Linked DNA regions of Homo sapiens: all the other regions are linked to region 1. Evidence: promoter capture Hi-C in 16 types of primary human blood cells and fetal thymus (Javierre and others, 2016). All regions are on one chromosome and are shown on one strand. Each heading gives the region's core, a stretch centred on a gene start or on the middle of the fragment in contact. The rest is flanking DNA. Distances are from core to core; before and after follow the strand shown. Region 1 holds the start of PBX1-AS1 (PBX1 antisense RNA 1). Region 2 has its middle 76 kb from the start of NUF2. Region 3 has its middle 260 kb from the start of NUF2. Region 4 has its middle 190 kb from the start of NUF2. Region 5 has its middle 52 kb from the start of NUF2. Region 6 has its middle 95 kb from the start of NUF2. Region 7 has its middle 240 kb from the start of NUF2.

Region 1 (3,264 bases), core at 51-2,550:
TGACCCACTCACACTCAGCTCAGCATTCCTATTTCAAACACTGCTGACACACGGTATATCTTCATGTGTACCAGCAATCAGACTGTAGTCAATTAAATTGTTTTGAAAATTAGGTTTATGCACTTATCAGTTGTTTGAGAGTCTGGCAGTTTTGGCCTTAAGAGTTCCCTGTCAAAGACTATGGCGTGAAAGATCACTGCTTTCAGGCTTCTATGCTGTGATTAAATGTGGAGAGTGGTTTTGGGGACATGTGTCTTAAGGGATAAGCTAGTGAGGAATAGGTTGGGACTGGTAGGACGAGCGGCCTGTGGCACATTTCAGAGCCCTCAACCGTACCCCACACTGCATGGGCCATGACTCTCTCTTCACCCATGGATCATCTCTAGAGGGGATTCATGATGTCACCTGGAGTCTCTGCTCTCTCCAAGTGTACTGGAAAGGATTGGGTGTTGGGAAGGCATTGGAAAGCTGGTATTAGAAGAGTTAGCTGGGGAGAGATTTGACTGAAGAGAAGGAAGCGTGTTTGCAGTGTTAACGCAGTGGATCTGCCTCAAGAGGCCCAGAACTTAAGAAAGCCAGGAAGCTATTTTTCTACGACTCCCCATGTTAGTGAAGGCAATTTTTTAACGTGATATCCACTTTGAATTCTTTGATCTTTAAGAAATATGAGTAAGAGAAAAGGATAGATGGCAAGATAGATGAGGAACTTCAGAGGGGGCTAAGATTACTTTAAGGGAAAGCTAATGAGTTGTTGAATTGTTTTACATAGTGGGGTGCTATGAATAGGATGTTAAGGAAAGTTCTTCACAAATAAATGACAGAATAAAAAAAAAATAAACCTAACATAAGACAATTTTCTTTTTCAGCAAGGCACAGGGTTCTTTGGGAAGCTTCAAAAAATTCAAAAGTCATAGTGCCTTTTTTCATGGAATTCACTAAGTAGAGACTTTTTTGTAGGCATATCATTAAATGCTGGACTCTCAAGTTTTCGAAATGAGAAGTCTCCATCTGGGAGGTATAAAAGGAAACCCCCATCTGGTTGGTTTTAGCATCTTCAAGGTGAGGATACAATTCTTAAAATTGTCTACCTATTTCTGAGTCCTGGTTCAAATTCCTTTGTGATGTCTATGTCAGCTGGGACCCTGTAGGCCCCACTGAGTTGCACATCACCAAGTGTGCCCATCACTGTGGTTAGAGGCCGTGGGCTGTGTACTACAGACAATGCTGTAATTGCTTCTGTGACCAAGTGAGGGCGGAGTTTGCCCTTTATGTGATGTAGGCAATATTCTATTTTTAATAAGCCAGAAAAATCTGTTCAAATCCAGTAACTTCAAGATTTTCCAAAGACTGGAAGATGTGGAGGACGTGGGCATCAGCTGGAATCTGATTTCTCTCCCCTCCACACTTGCTCTTCCCCATTTCTCAACTGCTGTCTCCCAGTGTAATTACCATCTCAAGCATTTTCTGTTCGTCCCCTGTAGGTACACCACATCGTGCCAACAACCCATGGCCCAGCAGGAATATACAGTAGCCTTTGCCAGGGTCCACCAGGGCTTGATTACACTTCACGGCTGTAATTCAAGCCTGCTAATCCTCCTCTGCGTTCGGAAAAGAGGCCTGTTCTGTTAGATAAGCTGATTACTGTCTGGTGTGTGCTTCATGCCTAGCAAGAGTTGTTTATATGTGGAATTATTGCTGGCTGGGCTCTGTGCTTCGCTACACCGAGGAAGCTCGCTTAGGGGTCAGGGGTGTCAGGCTTCACCTCTGATCTGGGAGGGGTGAGAAGTGGAGTGTTGATTACAGCTGTTTTTCTCTCAACCTCTGTGCTGGTGGCTAAATATTTACTTTTCTCTGTTAACGGAAGGAGCCAGATAAGATTTTAAGAGTCTGAGACTTTTGCCCCTAGGACCCACTGTCAAAGATCATAGAGTGAAAGATCACTGCCCCAGACTTGCCACATTCTGATTAGGTTTGCAAGGCGATCTTAGTGGTCTTTTTGTCTTTAGGGCTACGTTAGGGAGGACTATGGCGGGACAAGTTGAGTGTGTGGTGAAATCAACAGCCACAGATTGAAGAGTGCCCGACCACAGGGAAAGGATGCCCGCAGAGACCATGTGAATGCTTTCTCACACTCAAAGATGTTTTCTTCAAAGCCACAGAAGCCTTGAAACCACCTTTGCCTCTGCCTACCAGCCCATCTCTGGTCTGGTGTGGAGCTTGTGGCTTGGGTGCAGTCTACGAAGCCCTTGCTCTTCATGGAGGAGGAAGTGCATTTTGTTATAACCGTCTGCCCAGTGATGTTGGCGTGATTTATGCTGGCTGCACTCTCAGGATTCCCATCCCTTTTGCGGGGTATTTTGTCCCCAGATGCAGAGCTGAGGTTCTGCTTAATACTGGCTTTTAAGTGTTTAAGCCCTACAAATGGCTATTCGGTTTAATGGTGTAAGGATGGGGTGAGTGCTGAAACAAGTACAGGTAAACACAAGCACCTGGCCCTTGTCACCTGCTGCATGGGCATACATTGGGGTCTGTTTGTATATTTGAATATGTGGCAGTCTACACTGGAGTAAGGAAATAAGGATGAATGTCAAAAGGCTTAATTGTGATGATATCACAATTGAGGCCATTTGTTGAGTAAACTTCCTCCACATCTCTGTATACTAATAATCGGTTTGTCAGCTTTTCTCTATGACACTATCATTTCCTTTAGGGCAGGCACTTTGTCTTTCATTTCTGTGACCGTTACCTGTCTGGCCCATAGTAACCAATCAAGGAATGGGTCTTTGATTTAGTGTATGAATAATTAATAGATTTCAGTGAAGAGGCAGCCTATCCTAGATTGAATGCGCGGTATAAATTGTTAGGTATTTATCATAGCTCATTGTACGTGGGTTCCTTCCCAGGTACCTTTCTTGCCTTTCTTTCTAGGAAGCAGAGAATCCGCATCCCCAGAAACATGGGTGTTCCTTAGGTGTAAAGGGCATGGCCAGCTAAAGGCAGAACAGAAAAGCTGCTCTGGAAGGGGTACTGGGCGGCTGTGGCATGTGATTTAGAAGGAAGGGGTGCTGTGCTATGTCCTCACTGCTGAGACATCTGGGCCACATAATACCTCTTGATCCACAAATATCTTGAGTGTTATCTCCCTCTTTTCTTTTGCCATTCCCACCCCTCTTTTTCCTTTTTGAGTCCTCTTTGTTTTTCATCTAAAGTGTTCTCTTCCCTTTGCCTTTTCTAGGGAAATACTTGTCCCTTAAAGATCAGCAT
Region 2 (3,310 bases), core at 476-2,975, 1.4 Mb before region 1:
CATTCCTCCATTCATCATTTTTGTATATATTCTCTATCTCCTTCCCAGTTGAATTCTTCACTCCTTTAAAAATATATCCTATACTTTCCCATCCATGCTTGGCTTTTGTGGTACTCACAACTGGATTGTTCTACCTTCCATTTTCACCTAACAAATCCTGGTCATGCTTTAAGCTCTAACTCAAAAACTACCTTCTCCATAAAGCTTTCCCTGCTGGTACTTCTCTCCTAGAAGTGACTGAGCTGTTCTTCTTTGGAACCTCCCTTGTTACGTATCCTTCTTCGAGCATAAGTCTTTATCTACCTTATATGCTATCTGTGCATATCTCATTCCTCATACTGGGAACAGAGATGTTATAGGAAACTGAACTGAGTAGTTCCTGAGTTTAGACTATAACCCGAAGGACATCTTATATTAGCTTGCTTACCTAACATCTTGTCTTCTTGTTATTATTTTTCCTGTTACTAGAGTGCAGCAAAAGTAAAAAGGTAGTTTCCTGATAGCGTATATTCTCAGGAGTCCTTCCTGTAGAATATTCATGGTGATAAGATTCAGGAGAGCAGGTGCTATGAAATTAGCTGTGCTCTTTCATAGGAGTCTTGCATGAGCTTGATGGTTGGCCAAAGCAACAAAGGCTGAGGGAGACAAATTGATTTGGTGGGAGTCACATGTCTAATTAGGGGATCCAGCACAGTAGGTTTTGTTCCCTCTCCTCTCCAATACACACTGCTTCAGAGTCCACCCCCCAAAATTGCTTAAGGCTGCTATGATCCCCGAGGCAAAAGTATCTTCTGAATGAAGAAAACACTGATTTGATTTGTTTCTTCACAAGTTATACTCCCAGATGGTGCCTCCAGACTCACAGAATCTCAATAACATTTTATTTCCTTTCAGGCCATGGCTGATTTGCAGTGCTTTTCCATTTATAATTTTGAAGCTGAATACCTTTATGACTTTTCTGTTTCCTTTTTCTTTCAACTTGGAGCTGGAATTAAACTGAAGAATTTAGAAAAAAATAGTTGTAAGCCGTTAAGGGGAGATTGTAAAGACGTACAAACAAAAGGTCTGAAGAAGGAAAGAAAAAAGAAGAAAATTGGAGGGGTTGGAAGAAAAGTGGGGAATCTGGCCAACATTACTCAGTACTACATGAGCCAGAGCTTTACTAACTACTTGTCTATGATGCCTCATTTCATCTTATGACAGACCAGAAAAATTAAATAATATGTCCAAGATCCCATAATAAACAAATTGTGGGAAAGGGCTTTGGATTGAAGACTGTTTAACCTCAGGACCTATGCTCTTTTAACCACAACTTGCTGGGGGGATGCTGAATAACACAAAGGCTGAATGCAGATCAAGTAAGGGACGGATTGGAAGGCAGAGGGAGATGAATAGGTTTATCTTCTTATTCTCCCAGTTAGAACAGAGTGCCTGAGCTGGCGGGCACATTGAAGCATCCTCTGATTTCCAGCTTGTGTGCTGAAAACCAAGAGAAAAACAACCCGTGAGGCTTTCAGGAATTTAATTCAGATGATATGCTTCTTTCTTTCCATTTTCTTTGGATTTCATGAGCCTCTAAACAGTTGTACTGGTCTCAAAGTTCTGTTTCAAGTACCCTCCTCTTCCCCTCTTGATTCCCTCCCCACCAAGGATGACACATTTACTTCTGAAAACCTTAAGCAGAAATCTACTCCAATTGGGTCATTGAGGTCAGAGTTCCTAGACAAAAAGGTAATGAAGAGAGATGTCTCAGCAGAAAATAAGGACTGGAGTCAACCCTGGGCCTCAGTTACTTGGGTGATCATCTCAGATTCCTGATGTCCTCATAATACACACACCACAACTCATTCCAGCATTACTTAGCTGCCTGAAGTTTAAACTATGAGATTATTATTATTATTCACTTTCTGGGATCAGAAGAATAAGAGGTAAAGAAAGACAATGGTAGTCTTATTTGCTCATTTATTTATTCACTCAACATCTCTGCTATGCTGTGGGGGAAAAACAAATGCAGAATGTGCACAGTCTCCACTTTTGAGGAGATTAAAGTGCTGTAGACACTGACCCAAGATTTGAGAGTAATAAGGCAGATTTAAGGCAGTGGAATGAATATGGACAAGTACCTAAACACAGTGTAGAAAACAGGTATTAAAATTATCAGGAAGAGAAGAGGGTAGAGTGGGTTAAATGAGAGGCAAAATTAGGTGGTTGAAGGAGCACAGAGAGGGGCTTGAAGGTTTCCATTTCCCCTCCCAGAGCACAGGGACTTGGACACCAGACTGGGGCTGTTGGATGGGATGTCCCTGGAGCCTCAGTGACATTTGCCTGCGAGCTGACTTCAACGAATGAAACAGAGGGGAATGATTAAGAGGTGGTGTCCAGAGACAAAACCAAAGCCAGAGGAAGGCAGACAGTCTACCCAGTGATTGGAGAGGGACGCATGGAAGGGAGTCACCATGGCGACTGGGCCAATGCCTGATGGTCCTTCTCAGAGGCCGCATAGTGAGGTGTTCAAGCAGTTTCTGAAGCCAGGTTTACTGGCTTTCAATCCTGACTTCATGGCTTACTCTCTGAGAGACCCAGAGACAGTTACTTGACCTTCTTGTTTTACAATTTCCTCATGTTTAAAACGTCATTGATTATTATGGTACCCACCTAGGATACCATACCATCCTAGGAGTAGATTGTACAATTGAGTTAGTGTGGGTAAAGTGCTATGAATAGTTTCTGGCACATTGTAAGTGGTTAAAAACTGCTATTTATTATTAGTTATTAGTAGTTAAGGCCACTTCTCTAAATTCAATTTGGGCTACTAGTAACATTTTGAGAATGATTTTCAAGTCTCATCCTTATCAATCTCTTTGTCAACAGGCACTGCCATTCCTCAGCCCATTCCAGACAGAGCAGAAGAGAGAAAAGAAGAAATAAAGCAAAAGAAACAAGAGAGAGTAAAAGAAGCTCCCATGGTTTTTCTCTGAGAATTTCACTGGGGATCTAATTTTAAAGAAGGGGACATGAAGATTGAAGAAAGAACACATAATTTCAACCATTTTGTTAAATGAAATTTGTTGGCTCTATAAAAACGCTTCTGTTTTGGTTATGTCCTCTAGTTTTCCCTGGTTTTCCTTACAAAGAATAATAATTCTGTTCTGTCCTCTCCATCCCAGACTCTAAATATTCTTTTTTTTTCTCGTCCATGAAAGCAAAACTCCTAGGCTACATCCCGTGTAACTCCAGCAATGTGAGCAAGCTTTTGTTCCCAGTATTGGCAGCATTTCCCCCGTCGTTTGTCCCCCTGCCTGTCTGCAGG
Region 3 (3,467 bases), core at 202-2,701, 1.2 Mb before region 1:
GTTGCCCAGACTGGCTCAAACTCCTGGGCTCAAGTAATCCTCCAGACTTGGCCACCAAAATTGCTGGGATTACAGGCATGAACTCTGGGCTAAGATTAGCATTTTAATAGGTGGGCTCAGTAAAGCAGATTGGCCTCCCCAATATGGATGAACATCATTCAACTTTTTGAGGGCCTGAATAGAACAAAAGGTGGAGGAAGGAAGAATTCACTACTTCTTGTGCCTGATAAGTGAGCTGGAACATTGGTCTCCTTCTGCTCTTGGACTGGGATTTATACCATTGGCTTTTCTGGTTCTTAGGCCTTTTGACACAGACTTAATTGCACCACTGGATTTCTACAGCTTCTGCTTGCAAATAGCAGATCATTGGATTTGTCAAGTTCCATAATTGCATGAGCCAAATCCTCATTTAAAAAGCCCTTTCTGTATGCGTATTATTGGTCTGCTTTTCGGAATATGCTAATACACAACCATTGATGGAACACTTCCTAGTTCTATGAACCTTCAATCAGTTAATTACCCAAGTCTCAACTTCCTCATTTTTAAAATGGGGATAATAATATGACCTCATGGAGTTATTGTGAAGATAAAATCAGATAATAATTGTGAAGTGTTTTGAATGGTATTTGGCACATATTAAGTGCTTAATAAATGTTAACTCTTCTTATTAAACACAAAACTTAGATGCTACCCATAATTGTGGCTAATGGGTTTTCTTATGGACAAAGTCCATGCTGTCAGTTAACAATAAGAATAACAAATACCACCACCCATGACAGCATCAAGAAATGTCAGCTAGGCCGGGCACAGTGGCTCATGCCTGTAATCCCAGCACTTTGGGAGGTTGAGGCGGGAAGATCACATGTGGTCGGCGCATTCGAGACCAGCTGACCAACATGGAGAAACCCCATCTCTACTAAAAATACAAAATTAGCCGGGCATGGTGGCGCATGCCTGTAATCCCAGCTACTTGGGAGGCTGAGGCAGGAGAATCGCTTGAACCCGGGAGGCGGAGGTTGCAGTGAGCAGAGATTGTGCCATTGCACTCCAGCCTGAGCAACAAGAGCGAAACTCTGTCTAAAGAAAAAACAAAAAGAAAGAAAGAAATGTCAACTGTCACAGGCAAAATAGAGCTAAGCTTTATTGCCCTCAGTTGAAGGTACTAGGGGGCCTTAGTTTTGCTGTGATTCACTGTAGCCTATGCAGCAGGCCCACTAACCCATATGGCCTTTAGATGAATTAGAAATGGGCACTCCTTCTTTTGCCATGGCGTACTGATTTTGTTGGAATAGGAAGCATCACTGACATCTTCCAGAAAGCTGTCATAGTAAATATGCTGCTCTGTGATGTCTAGGATGTGGATCATTCCTCCTGAGATGTGGTGTTGTATGTGGAGGCTCTGCCTATCAGCATGGCTTATACAAGCATCAGTTTTTATAGATTGTGAAACAATCTTTAGAAACCAGTGCATAACATATCCATGAAGTCTTGTTAGAGTATCATGTCAACCTATTTTGCCCAGCAAGACTTTATAACAGGACACATGTTGGGAGAACAACAAGAGCACCTATGCTGTAGTCTTTTTACTTAATCATGAAGAAAAATGCTTTAACTAAATTATATTATTTAGTGCCTAATTTACCAAGTATAACCAAATCTATAATAAAGTGATAGTCTCATTGAAAAGGATACTGTTATGTTTATTGTTTATTTAACATTTTCCCTTTAGTAAGTATTAAAGGTAACACTGGCTATTTACAATTTTTAAGCTTTGTAAAAAGTTTGTCCATACAAAGAGTTAATGAATACAACCTGCTAAAACTGCCCAGCCCATAAATATATTTTAAAGTCACTTTTCCTGTCCCTGCTTCTGATCCAGGCAGTTATGCACCAGGCCTATGCTGGTGCGTAGGCCTAACCTGGTTTAGCTGTAGATTCTTGCAGTTCACAGAATCAGTACTGTGTGGAGCACTTCTATCTGCCCCAATACCTTACCAGTTCTGCTTTCAAACCTCAAAGACACTGATCTCATTCAATGCTGTTTACTTCAGTTCCTTATTTGCCTTGTTCTTTGAATTTGGCATGTGCTGCTTTCTACAACAAGGATATTAACTCCTCTAGACAACCAGCCTGATTTTTATTTTCAGAATCACTATCAGGGATCATTTAAGTAATCAGTTCCTTATTTGAATTGAGCCTCCAAGGATCTTTCTAACTCAGCTCTCTTCTATTAGATTTTAAGTTATTTGAGGACATGGGTTGTGTCACATTCACATCCAGAGCTTATCATGTTCAACAATAAAGATGTCTTGAATGTTGTTGGATTAAATTAGTGTGACTTAGAAGGCTCTCACAATATTCCAATAGGGCAAAAGTATAAAATATGAAGTAGCTCAGTATCTATAGAGTATACAAAGGTGACATGCAAACAACAATAGAGGATTGGGTGACAAAATGGAGGTTCCAGTCTAAGTGACTGAGAATAGTGGTAGAATGAAAACGACTTTGAGAAATGTTGAAAAAGATGACACGTTTTCAGCTCACTCAGTTATACATATGAGGCAGTCATGTTGGGGTGTAGACCTCACAAACTCACTACCTAAGAGCAACAAACTATGAGGAAGTTTAGAAATGGAAGTCATGTACTCCTAAGTATTAATATATACTGCACAAAAGAAAGTAAAATCTTGGCATTCTTTCTTGACCTGAGGGTTGTAAACACATAAATCAAGAAATTCAGAGAGAGAAGTCAGCAGAAAAATCTACTGGGGTTTGGGGCACAGAGTTTAGTGCTTTGCCTCATGTCAACTCCTCTGAGTCCCTGGTAAGTCTTTCATAGGTACTCAAGGCAAGTTTCTGTCCTCAGAGCGGGGTGGAATCAATGGAGATGATCCTATCACATTATGGAAATGAATGGCTTCACTTAATGTATGGGGTGTCCTCACAATTTACTCATCTGAACTAGAGCAACATCAAGCATTATTTTTCAATCCCTTTTATTAAATGTGCTAGGTCTGACTCAGCAAACTGCAGGACTTGCTGGCCTCTGGACCTGACTGATGAGGATAACGTCATTTATTAAGTTGATAGGCACAATGGACCGTGTCTCCATCCCAACCCCCATTTGTTTTTAATCTTATCTAGTCACTGCAAGTACATGATTTAAAATCTGGTTACTTAAGAAACAAATTGGAGGAGGTGGTGATTTTAAAGCAGTTCTGAAAATAAAAGCCTTATCAATTTTCTAGTTTTTTTTCCCACTCTTGTCATTTCCTTCCTTATAAAAGACAGGGTAAATTATTTGGTATGGGAGAAGTTCAATAATGTAGAACAAACTCAAGGTCTGAAGTCAAATGATCTGTGTTTAAGTCTCAGTACCAACATAAGGCATTACGTAAAAATCATCTATTTAACCAACCTTAACCAACTTATTGAGCTGTCTTAACCCAGTGCTGGTTACTACTATC
Region 4 (3,760 bases), core at 839-3,338, 1.3 Mb before region 1:
AAGTCCTTCAGTTACCTGGAATTATCCTTCTGAGAAGGTAATTTACCAATCATCTGCTGTTATACCCTACAAGCCTTCTATATCCTAATCAATACCTTGAAATAATCCTGTTAACCACATACATACTTTCTTTTGAAAACTGTATTGGTAGTGCCTTTCCAGTGATGTTTTAGGGCCTTCATAGATTAAAATCTTGAAAAACAGCAGGCTAGTAATCCAGCTCCATGCATCAGTAAGAGTTCCTTATTACCAAGTGACCATATAATTTATCATTCAAACTAGGACACTTTGGAGAGTGGAAGGAGGAGCTATTAATAATGTTGCAGTAACAGCAGAGGTCACATGGGACTGCCCCAGACCAACCAGGATGCAAGGTCATCCTACTCATAATGACTCACCTGCTGCAGAGAAAACAAAAGGTGACAGTTTAGGATGAATCCTTGGTCTTTTTCGTTGCAAGCCATTTTCAAACAAATCCAGAGTGTTCCTCTTCTATGAGGTCTTATACCTAGTGTGTGGCCATACCACCATGAACGTGACCAATCTCATCTGATCTTGGAAACTAAGCAGGTTTGGGCCTGGTTAGTACTTGCATAGAAGGAGCTCTTATAGAAAAACATACCTTCCTGAAAAACATACCCTTATTCCTAGATTTTTGGGGAAGTGCATCTCACTCTGAGTACAGCCACCTCCTTTGCTCTGCTCTCAGGGCAGGACGAAGCATAAGTTCCCATCTTGAGTCTTTTCCAAGGCAGGATAAAATACCGGTCCCTGTGTCCCTTGACCTCCAATGAACACAAGTCAAGTGTTCCAGGTCGTTCTCATTTAGACCCTTTCACCTGACTTGAGGTGAGGGGAACACCTCTACCCTCCTTATGCAGGCTGGAGGTGTGTGCTCAGTTTATGAACAGAGGGCCAGTTAATGGCTACTCCCTATGCAAAACCTACACAGAATGTCCGTAATCTCACTTTAAAATGCAGTTGTGTTTGAAATCTGTCATTTCACCTTTGACCTTAGAAGTCATTGCTTATGAAAATGTCCTGTAATTTCCTGTTATGCTTTTGTATTGTGCCAGCAACCTAAAACAAAAGTTCTTCTTAGAAATCATACCTAAAAATTTTCTTATGCAAATGTCTTTGATGACCCTATTCACTACTTCAAACACTATTCTTGGCAGACAGTGCTAGTTACCTATTCAGTTTCCAGTCTCTCTTTCTTCCCTGATGATGAAAAACTGATTTTATTTGGTGGGGTATTCAGCCTGGTTAAAAAAGATTCATCCTCAGACTTCCTTGAAAATAGATATTAACATGTGACCCTATTCTGTTCACTGAGATACGAGTGGCAATTACTGGTTGAGGTTTCTGAGAAAGCTTTTAAAAAGGACAAAGTTGATTCACACCCTTTTGCCTTGTGCTCTTTTCTCCTCCTTTCTGTCTGGCCTGCAGACATGATGCTTGAAGTACAGCTGCCATCTTAAGACCATAAAATCAAAACCACACAGTACAGATGGCAGAGCAGGAAGATAAGAGGGGCCCAGCTCACTGAATCATTGTCTTACTCTACAATGCCAATACTCGAACTTGTTACATGCTGCAACTAAATCTGTTATTCTGTAAACCACTTTCTGAGGGATTTTCTGTTGCTGGCAATTGAATTCGTTGTGTTTCTGACTGATAGAGTTCTCTGAGAATGCAGTATCTTTCTACCTGGAGTAAGGAGGAGGTAAAATACAACAATGCACATGCACACACACTCTTCTGAGAACAATGAGATGCTCCCCAATTATTTTCTCCAGCTCTCATAAAACTTGCCTGGGAGAGGGAGCAGCAGTAAAGACAGTAAAAATAAAAAGCTGTTTCTCTAAGATTTCCCTGATATGTGGAAATTACAAGACTGCCTTGTTTTGTATACTAAATCACAAGACATAACATCAAGGATTTCTTTCTCATGGAGCTATGGTTTGATTATGCAGGAATATGGAATGAATGTGTCCAACTGCACATTTACTCACTAATTCTATGATGGAGTATTTCCTCTGTGCCCAGGATAGCCAGAATGGAGAAGAGGCAGGAGAAAGCATCACACTGTGTGGCCTCCTTGGTCTGACAGCAGTTTTGATACCCCCAGGGCATATCACTAGCTTTTGAAATTAGTGAATTCATGGGAAGGGGTGTTTGTAAAAAAATGAAAAAAAATCTTTTAGGGTCCTGGCAAGCAGCATAAAGATGTGTGAAATGTGAAGTGACAGATATAAGACAATTGGTAATGGTGGGGTCTGTCAAACTAGAGAGGGCAAGCTGGCTTAAAGGATTGAGCCAGCATTTAAAAAATTCATTGCTAACTCCCCACCCCCTAAAGAAACATGTTGTATAGAGCTATCCAAAGAGAGATAAAAAGTTTTTCTTTCTGGGTTTATTGAGGATAGTTGCAAAAGGAGACAACAAAGGGGAAAACAGAAGCAAAATAATATAGCCAATATGTCTCTTGCTAGCTAAGGGAAATATTTTATGAGCCCTAAGAAACTGCTCAGGAACCCCAAGATTTAATTAGGGAATAACTGAGTAGGTCCTTAACTCTCATAATTGGTAGATACAAAGCCAAATAATGTACTTTTGTTATTATAATTATGTCTTCATTTTTATCTTCAACCTGATATAGCCCGGACATTTCTTGTTTCTGTGAATAGTTTTGCAGTTATGTTGATGGGTAATAAAGTACATTCATTTCAGGCACCATACATTTCAATCATCTTTGACCACATAGGACATGATCAATAAGTGTTTGTTGAACTAATGAAGGAAGCTTCAGTTGTGCCTGGTAATATTAGTGATGATGATGATAAAAGCTATGATAATACTAACAGTAAATATGATTTATTGAGTGATTATTGTGTATAAGACAGTATCCATGGATAATCTTTAAAGGTGACAAAACAGTGTTGAGGAGGAGTTATAAAAATTTGTGAAGCCAGCTTGAGGCAGAGCAGGATGGCTGAATAGAAGCCTCTGCTGATTGTCCTCCCTGCAGGAACACCAAATTGAACAACCATCCATACAAGAAAGCAACTTCATGAGAACCAAATATCAAGTGAGTGATCACACTACCTGGTTTTAACTTTATATCACTGAAAGAGGCACTGAAGAGGGTAGGACAGACAGTCTTGAATTTCCAATGCCACCCACCACCCCATCCACCTGTGGTGGCTGTGTAGCATGGATAAATAATCTATGTGCTTTGGGGAGTGAGAGTGCAGTATTGTGGGACTTTGCATTGGAACTCAATGCTGCCCTGTCACAGTGGAAAGCAACACTGGCCAGAACTTAGACAGTGCCCACAGAGAGAGCATTCAGACAGCTGTATCCAGAGTGGAATCAACCATCTTAGCAGTCAGAATGTGAGTTCTGGCAAGTCTTTCCATCACAGACCAAAGTGCTCTGGAATCCTAAATAAATTTGAAAGGTAGTCTAGCCACAAAAACTGCAGTTGCTGGGCAAGTCCTGGTGTTGTGCTGCATTTGGAGCCAGTGGACTTTGGGAGCATGTGACCTAGTGAGACACCAGCTGGGAAGGCCAAGGGAGGGCTCGCATTACCTCTTCCCCAACGCCAGGGACTGCAGCTTACAGCTCTGGGAGAACTCCTTCCTTCCACTTGAGGAGAGGAAAGAGTAAAGAGGACTTTATTTTGCAACTTGGATACCAGCTGAGCCCCAGTAGAATATAGCATTAGGCAGAGTCCTGAGGCCCCCATCTCAAGCCC
Region 5 (3,736 bases), core at 636-3,135, 1.4 Mb before region 1:
GCTCTTGAAAACTTCTTTGTCTCATGACATTCTTGCCGTTCCAAACCTTAATTTGGCTGCTGCTTCTCAACATGGAGCCCTCACCACAATGTTACCTCCTCAAAGACATGTTCCCTTACTACCTTGGCTAAAGGCTAGCTAAAGCAGCCCTACCTCAAAACCACTCAGTTTCTATCTCATTACCTTATATTTTAAAAATGAACTTGTCAATACTTTGGGTATCTTATTAATACTTCCCTATTTGTTGTCTGTCTTCCTCCACTAGGATTTAAGCTCCTCCTCAATGTATATAATACTCAAAGCTGTACCTCCAGATTGTAGAACAATGCTTGGCATGTAGTAGGCACTCCATAGATATTTGTGGATCTACTGAAGGCTCCTTTATATTCTTGTCATTTCCACAATTATGTCATCCTCTACGTCTCTCTTTAAGGACCTTTGCACATGCTGTTTCATACATCCCTTTTCCACACTATTCTTTTAAGCTTGCTAAATACTATTCAGCGTAATTATCATTTCTTCCAAAAAGTCTTTCCTAACCTCAGTTGAGTCCCTCTGTGGCATTCTCACATGTCATCTTGATCATTTTCTATCAAGAGCATTTGACACTGTTGGAATTATTGTATACATAGCTCACTTCCACACTAGACTTCCACATTTTTTAGTTGTTCACAGTTATGTTCTCAGGGCCTAGTATCGTGCTTGGCGCATAACAGGTGCTAATAATAATTTGTGGAGGAATGAATGGATGAAATGTGTTTCAGAAACAGTGTTTCTGTTCTGTGGGGAATTTATTTTCAAATCAGACTCTAATAAATACTTCCTCCCCAAAAGGTGAGAAACACCCTCCTCTCACCCTGGCGTATAGATCCAGTGGGGAAGAATGCTGATTGCACAGGCAGTGAGGATTAGAAAGCTGAGCTGTAGCACCAAGCAGACAAATAGATAAGCTATTCCTAATGTGGTAAGTAATTAGCACACATTTGGCAGAGTGTATTGGAAGGAGCAAACCTCCTTAGCAGTATACTTGGAAAACACTCAGGACTTAAAGCTGAGAAAAAAACAAGGAGCAGTTGCAAATAGATACTAAGAAAAATCTTTACATAGTAATAAAGACCTTGAAACATGGAAACATCATCTCGGAGAGATAAGTATGGGACAAGAACAGAATGTAATATGTGGCAGAATCTCCAAAATTAGGACTAGACGGAAGAAGAAAACTCTGGCTGTTTCTACAACCAAGATTATTTTTCTCTTGTCTTAACCAATCTAAAAAAATGTTTTTTTCTAATTTTTTAATGAGGAAGGAATTGAAGATTAGTGTACAAATTCTATTTTATCGTTGCTCTAGTTGATGTATAGGGGGTTCTTCCTAAGTTAGTTATATTCCTTAAAGTGAACATTTTCATTGGCAGTTCATATTTTTGTGTTTTTATGAAGTCCTGATTTTTTTAAACTCCTACTTTGGCCTCCCAAAGTGTGGGGATCACAGGTGTGAACCACCATGCTCAATTGTACATTTGGACTGGATAGCTGCCAGCAGTCAAAATGTTGGCTCTCAAATTAGTTAATTTGTAGTTTGGTCTAAAGAAGTTTATTTCTCTCTGGGTATGCTACCTAAAATTCCATGGACTCATTTGGAAGATTGTGAAATTCATCAAATGACTTGCCCAACCAAAGTATACAGGGGTGTCCTCATGGAAGAGAACCTACAAGGGGCTCAAGACAGCAGGAGTTCTGCCTTTGTTCTGCTATAACTGAGCATGGTCTGATGGCTTACCTCACGTCTGTGTTCTCCCATGGGTATTAGTAGTCCTATAGTGTCTCTGTAAAGAAGGACTTTGTGATCTTAGCAAAGCCTTAAAATTAGGGTTGGCAAATAAAATACAGCAAATAAACAAATATAAGTTTAGGGCGTGCTTATACTAAAAAGTTATTCATCATTTATCTGAAATTCAAATTTAACTGGGAATCCTGTATTTTTTATTTGCTAAATCTAGCAATGACAATTAAAATTAATTTATCATTAAAAGAAAAATTCCATTTCTCTCAGTTCTCTGCCCATCATGATAAAAAGCCAAAAAAAAGTTGCAGAAGGAAGTAAAAAAAAAAATTTCACTGGTGTCAATTGCTTTTTCATGCAACATAAATGTTTAATTACTGAGACTTCCTTTTCTCTTCCTTCCTTCCTTCCTTTCTTCTTTCTTTCCTTTCTTTCTTTCTTTCTTTCTTTCTTTCTTTCTTTCTTTCTTTCTTTCTTTCTTTCTTTCTTTCTTTCTTTCTTTCTCTCTCTCTCTCTCTCTCTCTTTCTTTCTTTCTTTCTTTCTTTCTTTCTTTCTTTCTTTCTCTCTTTCTTTCTTTCTTTCTTTCTTTTTTCTTTCTTTCTTTCCTTATCTTTCATCTATAACCTTGCTCTTTCACCCAAGTGGGAGTGCAGTGGCACAATCACAGCTCACTGCAGGCTCAACCTCAATCTCCTGTGCTCAAGTGATTCTCCTGCCTTGGCCTTCCAAAGTGCTAGGATTACAGGCATGAGCTACCACACCCGACCTGAGACTTCTTAAAAATAGAAAAGAGTTGACAATCTACTGAGAGAGAAGGCATTTTGAAGCCAGTGATTGGATTTCCACACATTATCTTTTGTTGTTCATGTCTCCATTAGCATAGCAGTTAGAGTGTTTTGCTGCATTTATCTCCTTTGATAAAGTTAGGTGCTTATGAGGTTGTGAACTCAATTCTCAGGAGTATAGGTTAACTTCTGGTTTAGAAGCCAAACTACATTATACACCACAACACACTAGGGACAAAAGGGGCCCTTTGATAAGTCATAAACAACCAGCTGATTGATTGGTTCTAGGAATTTAAATATCTAGGCATTCATTTTAATTAAGCACTTCATTGGAAAACACATAACACAGACTACAGTCACTAGAACTGTGACAGCTATATTGCAATTTTATAGCCCAAAATTTAATCAGCAGGTGCTGATTAATCTTGCTCTAAAAATCTTCCATAGCAAGGCAGTTGCTCAGATTCTCTATGCTTCAAAAGGGGAAGGGGGGATAGTTGATGCTGCTGAGAAAATAGATGGCCAACCTTTTACTTTTGCTCCCTAGTTTTCTGGGAGTTTTGATTTCAGCTATAAGCAAATTCCCATCTTTAGCACCAGTGTTGACATGACCATAACAATATGTTTAAGACCATAAAAGAGAACCCCATTTGGAAATTAGCCAGCTCTGAGTTTAAAGGGCTAGGTTTTCATAGCTAACTTTCAGTCAGTAAAACATAAGCTTCTCCCCAGCACAACCCCCAGCCCTCCCCATTTCCTTTCAGTTCTCTCCCCTCAAATTGCACAGGTTTCTCTCCTGGACCCATTCTATATTTTCTCACAGCTCCTCTCTGGGTCATCTCTACCTGTCATTATTTTAGCTCTTTGATTTTACTAAACAATATGTTGTTTCCCACACGTATGTTTGTCCTAGAATGCCCTCATCTTCCTTGGCTTAGTCAAATCCTCCTCATGCTTCTTTGAATGCCCAGACCAAATGTCATCCCCTCGAGAAGCTTTCTCTGTCATCCACCCCAGACTATGCCAAGTACCTCCTTCTGTGACCCCACAATTACTTTAATGTGTCTATATCACCTTGTTTATGTAGAGTGGGTAGACATTTTTACATATTTATTTTTATCTGCTTATAAAAATAAAGCTTGCTTGTTTATAGAAAAGGTGAAAATA
Region 6 (3,432 bases), core at 151-2,650, 1.4 Mb before region 1:
ATTTACTGGTTTACTTCCTAATTCATTGACAATTCCTTCTTTTGTACCCTTTGCCGATTCTCCCTCATAGATCCTTAAACTCTAGTATGACTCTGTGGCATAATGCTCAGACTTCTTTTCTTCTCTATCTCTTATCACTTGCTGTGTGGTGCCTCCAGCCTCATGACTTTAAACATCATCTATGCTAAGGATTACCAAATACATCATTCTGATCTTGACTTCTCCCCTGAGTCCAGCTGCCTAGTCATCGTTTAATCTTGGATGTTTTGAGATGTCTTTAGGCATTTCAAACTTAACATGTCTCAAACCTCACTGTTGATCATGATCATTCCTTCACACTTGTTTATTTTCCCTTGTTTTTCCCATTTTAATAACCAGTAATTTCATTCTTATGTTTTCTAAGAGTAAAAACTTTAGTGCCATTGTTGAATTTTAATAAATATCTCATAACAAATTCACCATCCAATCTTACCAGCTCTACCTTCTAAGTTTACACAGACTCTAGCCTTTGCTCCTCACCTTTATGTTGATCCTCCTGGTTTAAGGACACCCTAATTTATGGCCTCGTTGCTTTTACCCTTGACCCCCGCTATACTCTGTTCTCTGGCTAGCCACCAGAAGTATCCTTTTAAAAGCACAAATCAGATCTTATAATTCTTCTGTCAGTGGTTTTTCATCTCAGAATAAAAGCCAATGTTCTTATAATAACCTATCAAGCGGCCAGCCACATTAACCCTCTTATGGTTTCTCCAGGGGACCAGAATAGTCCTGCTGCAAGGCCTTTGTACCTGCTGTTCCCTCTGCCTGGAATGAACTTTCTCTGGGTTTCCACGCAGCTCACTCATTCACTTCTGTCAGGTCTCGTTGCAAATGTCATCTTATCAAGGACACTGTTCCTAAACACTCTGTTTAAAATAGTACTTCCTCTGCCTCTTTCTCTGATTTTATTTTCCCTGCTACCATATATTATCACCTGACATCCTATGTATTTTACATATTAACTGTTTATTGCCTGTTTACCCATTGCTAGAATCTAAATCTTTTAAAAGTGAAATTGTCTTTTTTTCCTCACTGTCTCGTCCTTAGTGCCTACATACAGTGCCTGCCATAAAGATGGTGCTGAAGAAATATTCGTTGGTGTTTAATAAACAAAGCAACAATACTAATCAATTTCTACAATTTTTAAGTCTCATACCTTTTTCTTTAGGGATGTGGGAGACAGTGGTCATGAAGGGAGAGGCTTATTAAAAAGTTGACAATGGGGCCGGGCGCGGTGGCTCACGCCTGTAATCCCAGCACTTTGGGAAGCTGAGGCAGGCGGATCATGAAGTCAGGAGATGGAGACCATCCTGGCTAACACGGTAAAACCCCGTCCCTACTAAAAATACAAAAGATTAGCCGGGCATGGTGGCGGGCGCCTGTAGTCCCAGCTACTTGGGAAGCTGAGGCAGGAGAATGGCGTCAACCCGGGAGGCGGAGTTTGCCGTGAGCCAAGATCGCACCACTGCACTCCAGCCTGGGCGACAGAGCGAGACTCCGTATCAAAAAAAAAAAAAAAAAAAAAAAAGTTGACAATGGGCTGGGAGAGAGAGAGAGAGGAGAATTAAGTAAAATTCCACAAAAAGAATCATCATGCATGGTTCTAAAGTAACAGAAAGAATTCTTTTTCAAGACTTGGTATCTCACTTCTCACAGGTTTGCTCTACTCTAAATAACATGCCTAAACACTAGGGACCCATCTTCCACATCAGAATAATATGATTCTGCCAGTGTGTGGGATTTGGGAACTAGTGGGGAACAATTCATTTTCGGAAGAGAAGATGATCAATACATTGAGACATTAAAGCAAATGTTGTTCATTTATACATTGTACTAACCAGTCTTGAGTGCTTATGGGGTATCTTTCTTGGGACTCTGGTTAATGGTGTGAGGAGCAAAGAAAATACAGACCCTGATCTGCTTCTGTCTTCGTGTAGGCTGATCCCTGTGAAGAAGTCATGGGGGAAGGCTGGCCCAAGGTGTGTGGGTGGAGAGCGAGACAAGAAAATGGGAGCAGTCATGAAGCAGTGTCCTGAAATGTCTTGCCTTCCAAGGCCTTGGGGTTTCTGCCAAAATGTAGGTTTTGTAGGGAGGTAAGCAGCTCCAAACCTGGAAGGACATGTGGTTGAAATTATAGAAAAAAGACAAAATTATAAAGGAAGCTACTGGATGAAAGGCTGGAGTAATTTTTGTGGGGAGTAGTGAGCCCCTGTGTATACGAACATCCATGTTGATTCTCATTTATCAGAGTAAGTGCTTGCCTGGCCACATGGTTAGACTGCTCTAACAAACTGTGCCAGATGTTACCAATAAAAGAGAGTCCTTCTTTTTACATACCATTATTGGCATAATATTTTCTGTTCCCAACTCTTGTGGAGTCACTGTTGACAGCTTGATGAACTAAGGACTCACTCTCGGTTTGACTGTGTTTCAATCATGAAAGCCCAAGACTGAAAGCAGAGTTAATAAGAGCTAACTACCTGTCTTGACAGAAAAACATAATATTAGTACCTCAGGTAGGACATCCCAAGAAAAAAACGGTTTCACGTAAGAAAGTTCCCAGAGGCAGCTGTATAAAGCCCTATTGGTGGGCTTCTAGGTTCAGGATATGTGAGATGTGGATCATACATTCCCTATTGCAGATTGTGTAAGGGAGGGAAGACAGGGAAGATGGAGCAGGGAAGCTAATGACACTATCAATGTGAAACATGGACTAGACCACCTCCAAGTACCTGGCCACTTGTAGATATTAATTGTCATTGTAATAATAATGATAAAATGTAATGACCGCCATTTATTTGGTGACTACGTTTTGCGAGCCACGTATTTATATATTATATAAGCATAATAAATATATATATTGGTAGTTTTTGCAAGAGCCTATGAGACAGGTATCAGTTACCCCTCCATTTTTCCTTACTGTATTCATGGCCCACTCTCTCAATTCTTCCCCCTTTTTCTGAAGGGGGAAAGTTCTCTTCAGACATTTTGAACCTCCATCTTGTCCTTCCCATCTCCAGAAGATGCTGGCCTCATACTGACTGAGTGCTTTGAGGTAAGAGCTACGAAAGCTTTATTCATTAAGGACTTTAAACCTTTACAATGTGCTGTCCTTTGCATGTTAAAGTCCTCAGAGTGGAACAGATGCAAAACCAAAGCCAAAAATAAAAAAACAATAACGCTGTAATCCCAGCACTTTGGGAAGCTGAGGCGGGCCGATCACTTGAGGCCAGGAGTTTGAGAGCAGCCTGGCCAACATGGTGAAACCTCATCTCTACTAAAAATACAAAAATTAGCTGGGCATGATGATGCATGCTTGTAATCCCAGCTACTCGGGAGGCTGAGGCAGGAGAATCGCTTGCACCAAGGAGGCGGACATTACAGTGAGCCGAG
Region 7 (3,433 bases), core at 215-2,714, 1.2 Mb before region 1:
TAGAAAGATGATATTTTTGCATGATGTTAAGGTTTATATCCTGATAGTAATGATCTAATAGGAAGAAATTGATGGTGCAAGAGCAAAAGGAGATATTTTCAGAGTGGGAGAAGTATTTGAGTAAGTGAGAAAGAATGGACTCCAAGGTGTGAGCAGGGACGCTTTTTTGTGGTAAGAAGGCAGAACCTATGAGGATGAGATCAGGCAGGCTGATGGGTTGGCTAATGGGGAATGAGGTAGCAATCATGTTTCTATCCATGTTCCCTAGGAAGAAAGATGCAGTCACATGTTAAAAATTGGGTTTGAAACAGAAAGCATGTTGGAGAAAAGAGGTGTGAAATAATCTTTTTGGAAAAGAAACAAGTGAATTTATTTAGCTACTAGTAGAATTGCCTGACAGTTCTGTGTACCCAAATTGATAATGCTAATTAAAAGGAAATCACACCTCTGTGCATGTGGAAGGGGGTGTTTGTGCATGTGTGTGTGTATGTGTGTGTGTGCACGCGTGCATTTATGTGTTTCACTCCAGCAACATTCAGCTGCTTAGGTGCTGGTGCAATGAACCAGGTACTTACAATAGACGCAGCAAAAGGCAAAGGAGTTGAGGTTAATGGAAAGGGAGTGGCTATGGTGTCACAGTATGGAATCCATGCTGAGTAAATTGGAAAATAAGGACATAAGAAGGTCTAAGTAACTTTAATATATGATAGTCAAGGAAACTCTGCTCTAGCCCACACTACTCTTTTGGAGAAAGCTAAGAGTCAGTTCTACATACTTTGTCCCTCAGGGACACAGAATTTACCACTATTCCTGCTTCACTCCATCAGCTTGTATTAATTGAATCTGCTCTGCATCAGGGGCTGTGCCTGAGACCAAGGAAGGGAAATTTAAAAATTAAAAGGATGCTTTTCCTGCCCTTGAAGTTCAAAGTTTTATTCCTAAGAAAACCTGATTCTCTAGGCCGATCCCATGTCTCTCTTCTCTTGCACCCTTGCCTTGCTCTCCTGGGGAGGAAAGATTTCCCAAGGGCTGACACATGTCTCCTGCTCATGCCAGTGACATGAGAACCCCTCTGACTGACATGTCAGTGGCTTCAAAACGGAAGAGGTGTATAGCAAGCAGTCGAGACAGCAAAGTGTAAGCTCAGCGGTTAGAAGACACAACCTTCAGTTCTGAATCTGCCTCTGGCTAAGAGTGTGCCACATCTGGACCTCAGTTCCAGCACTTGTAAAATTAAGAAATTAAACAGGAGATACGAGATCTCTTCTAGGCCTAGTATTTTGCAAACTAGGTCTCTGGAAGCCTTTGTAAATGTATGTTTCATGTAAGTCTCCATTTCTGCTAAAACGTCTAGAATTTAGTCTAAGTTGTCAAAAATGTTCTCAAAGAGTGAAGGAGTTGACCTGATGTGGTCTGGGAAGTTAACAATTATTCTGTAGCAGGAATTCATTGATTCAGTGAAAATCTGTTCCATTCACTACTACCTAGAAGAATGTAGGATACTGAGGCCAGAACCTCTTTGGCTATGAAGGCCTCATTGAAACTCCTTGGCTATGCAGCCCGCGTTTTGATGAAGAGGAAGATTTTGTTACCATTGAGCACTGTTGAGAGAGATTGTGTGTGTGTGTGTGTTTGTGTGTTTGTATGTTTGTTTTGAGTGAATTGAGCAGCAGGAGAAAGCATAAAAATGGAGGAAGAGGACTGACTACCCACAGACTCACCATTTAAAAAATAGAGGAGGTCTTAGAGATTTTATAACTCATCCATGAGAGTGAGAAAACTAAGGCCCAGAGGAGCAAGCATAGGCCAACTCACTCATCTCTGGAGCAGCAGAGCCAAGCCTAGAAGGCATATGTTCAGACTCCCAGTTTAGTGCTCTCTCTCTATAGTTAACTATTCTTTAAAAAATAGTTACATATTTCTCCTCTCCAGTTTCAATGATTGCATAATTGCCTCTCCAATTCACAATTCTGCACCAGGCATGCTAGTGGTGTGTTATGTTGTGTGAACAAATAAGTGGAAAATGTATTTTGATCATAGAAGTACAGCAGGTGACAGTTCATGGATTTGGGGTTAAAAATAATATAATCTCTGTGACCTTGGGGAATAGAGCCAGTGATGCTTCCCTGAGCTCCTACATCACTAAGAACCAAATCATCCATTCTAAACAGGCCTTTTTTTGCTTGTGACTATGATATCTGCTGCTACTAAAGCAGGAGGCCTAGAATTTCCCTAACAAGGAGGCCCCTACTGCCTTAAAGTCTGAGGGACTCCTGGTTTACATTTAGGGCTGCCCAGGCCCCAGTGTCCCCCTATTCGGCTATCCTCACAAACAGCACTTCCCTACTTTCTTTCTTTCTTTTGGCCAGGAGGTGGCTCTGTAATACATGTTGGGATTAGATACCAAGGAGCCTAGCAATAAAGTCCCTGAAAAATCTATGATCAATACTAGTTAAGAAAGGAAAACAGATGTTCTTTTGCTTATGTAGATGAGATGCTTGAATGTTCACTAACATACATATGCAAATACAGAATAAATGGATTTCCAAAACTCAGTAGCTCCAAAGGACTCTGGAAGACAATAGTCCAAATTTACCACCAGTGTGGATACATGGATCAGGGGAAGCACTGCTGATTTGCTGAACAAAAGACAGGGTCAAATTTCAAGCACAACAAGCACAGCTCTAAATAGGATAAACACACGGGAGAGAAAATGCATAGTAGGAGGGTAGAGATGAGATAATCCAGGGGGTCCTGCTGACTGATATTCAGCGCAAAAAGGAGGAGGGAGTCCTGATGGGAAGCCAGCAGAAACAAAGGCAAAAGGATCAGCATCCCCAGGAAAGGGGAAAAGGCAATTGTGTTGATCAAATGTAATCTGGTTCCTGACATTGCTGATGCTTCATTCATGAGAAGTAGCTTCAGTCAGGAATCTGCCCTCCCTCCATCCACCGTACGTATGCACACATTTAGAAAGTCTTAGTATAAATATCAGTAAGTCTTAAACTCATAGAACATTGGAGCAGAAAGGGTCACGGGATCACTTAATTTGTTCATTTTCCAGATGGGGGCACTAAGCCAGGCAGAGACCACAGACTTTGCCCCAACCTTAGTTTTAGGTGAAATGGGCTTTCAAGACCATGAGCACTTTGAACCCGGTGATAGCAGCTCTCCTCCCACAATGCTTTTCTTTCTTAGCCCAAAGAGTTTCAAACCAACCATCACATGCATGGGATGCATCCCATGCCTGTGTTGGATCTATTTCTTTTGACTGCTGCTTAGTCTACAAGTGAGATAGGAGACAATGCTCATGACCAGGTGGCTAGTTACTGGGATGTGCTTTGTTGACCCTTCTTAATCTGTCTACATAGTATGCATTCTAAAGGGGCAGATTCAGCACATGTTCCCAGGAAGTAATAGTTCTTTTTTTTTT

The links. The method cuts DNA at HindIII sites, captures the fragments that hold promoters and counts their contacts. A CHiCAGO score of 5 or more calls a contact.
Region 2: a fragment that was not itself captured here is called in contact with the fragment with the promoter of PBX1-AS1 in region 1 in 4 of 17 cell types (naive B cells, naive CD8 T cells, total B cells and 1 more); the score reaches 7.9 in naive B cells.
Region 3: a fragment that was not itself captured here is called in contact with the fragment with the promoter of PBX1-AS1 in region 1 in 1 of 17 cell types (endothelial precursors); the score reaches 5.4 in endothelial precursors.
Region 4: a contact is called between a fragment that was not itself captured here and the fragment with the promoter of PBX1-AS1 in region 1, in 1 of 17 cell types (fetal thymus). The highest score is 6.3, in fetal thymus.
Region 5: a contact is called between a fragment that was not itself captured here and the fragment with the promoter of PBX1-AS1 in region 1, in 3 of 17 cell types (total B cells, naive B cells and endothelial precursors). The highest score is 8.6, in total B cells.
Region 6: a contact is called between a fragment that was not itself captured here and the fragment with the promoter of PBX1-AS1 in region 1, in 3 of 17 cell types (naive B cells, total B cells and endothelial precursors). The highest score is 8.4, in naive B cells.
Region 7: a contact is called between a fragment that was not itself captured here and the fragment with the promoter of PBX1-AS1 in region 1, in 2 of 17 cell types (endothelial precursors and total B cells). The highest score is 7.2, in endothelial precursors.

The regions. Positions count from the first base shown.
Region 1 is chr1:164,773,341-164,776,604 of GRCh38, forward strand. PBX1-AS1 (PBX1 antisense RNA 1) reads right to left here and starts at 1,301. Exons shown (of 4, transcript NR_038072.1): 1 at 1,089-1,301. The region is part of intron 2 of PBX1 (PBX homeobox 1); the gene reads left to right. The HindIII fragment of the contact is 2,806 bases long and covers 889-3,264 here.
Region 2 is chr1:163,396,797-163,400,106 of GRCh38, forward strand. No RefSeq gene overlaps it. Among named protein-coding and RNA genes, the nearest start is that of NUF2, 76 kb to the left of the region's middle. RefSeq lists an enhancer at 3,074-3,310. The HindIII fragment of the contact is 3,046 bases long and covers 203-3,248 here.
Region 3 is chr1:163,578,123-163,581,589 of GRCh38, forward strand. No RefSeq gene overlaps it. Among named protein-coding and RNA genes, the nearest start is that of NUF2, 260 kb to the left of the region's middle. The HindIII fragment of the contact is 631 bases long and covers 1,137-1,767 here.
Region 4 is chr1:163,508,973-163,512,732 of GRCh38, forward strand. It overlaps the pseudogene RNA5SP63. Among named protein-coding and RNA genes, the nearest start is that of NUF2, 190 kb to the left of the region's middle. The HindIII fragment of the contact is 1,432 bases long and covers 1,373-2,804 here.
Region 5 is chr1:163,371,851-163,375,586 of GRCh38, forward strand. No RefSeq gene overlaps it. Among named protein-coding and RNA genes, the nearest start is that of NUF2, 52 kb to the left of the region's middle. The HindIII fragment of the contact is 2,805 bases long and covers 484-3,288 here.
Region 6 is chr1:163,415,532-163,418,963 of GRCh38, forward strand. No RefSeq gene overlaps it. Among named protein-coding and RNA genes, the nearest start is that of NUF2, 95 kb to the left of the region's middle. The HindIII fragment of the contact is 3,415 bases long and covers 1-3,108 here.
Region 7 is chr1:163,559,368-163,562,800 of GRCh38, forward strand. No RefSeq gene overlaps it. Among named protein-coding and RNA genes, the nearest start is that of NUF2, 240 kb to the left of the region's middle. The HindIII fragment of the contact is 6,081 bases long and covers 1-3,433 here.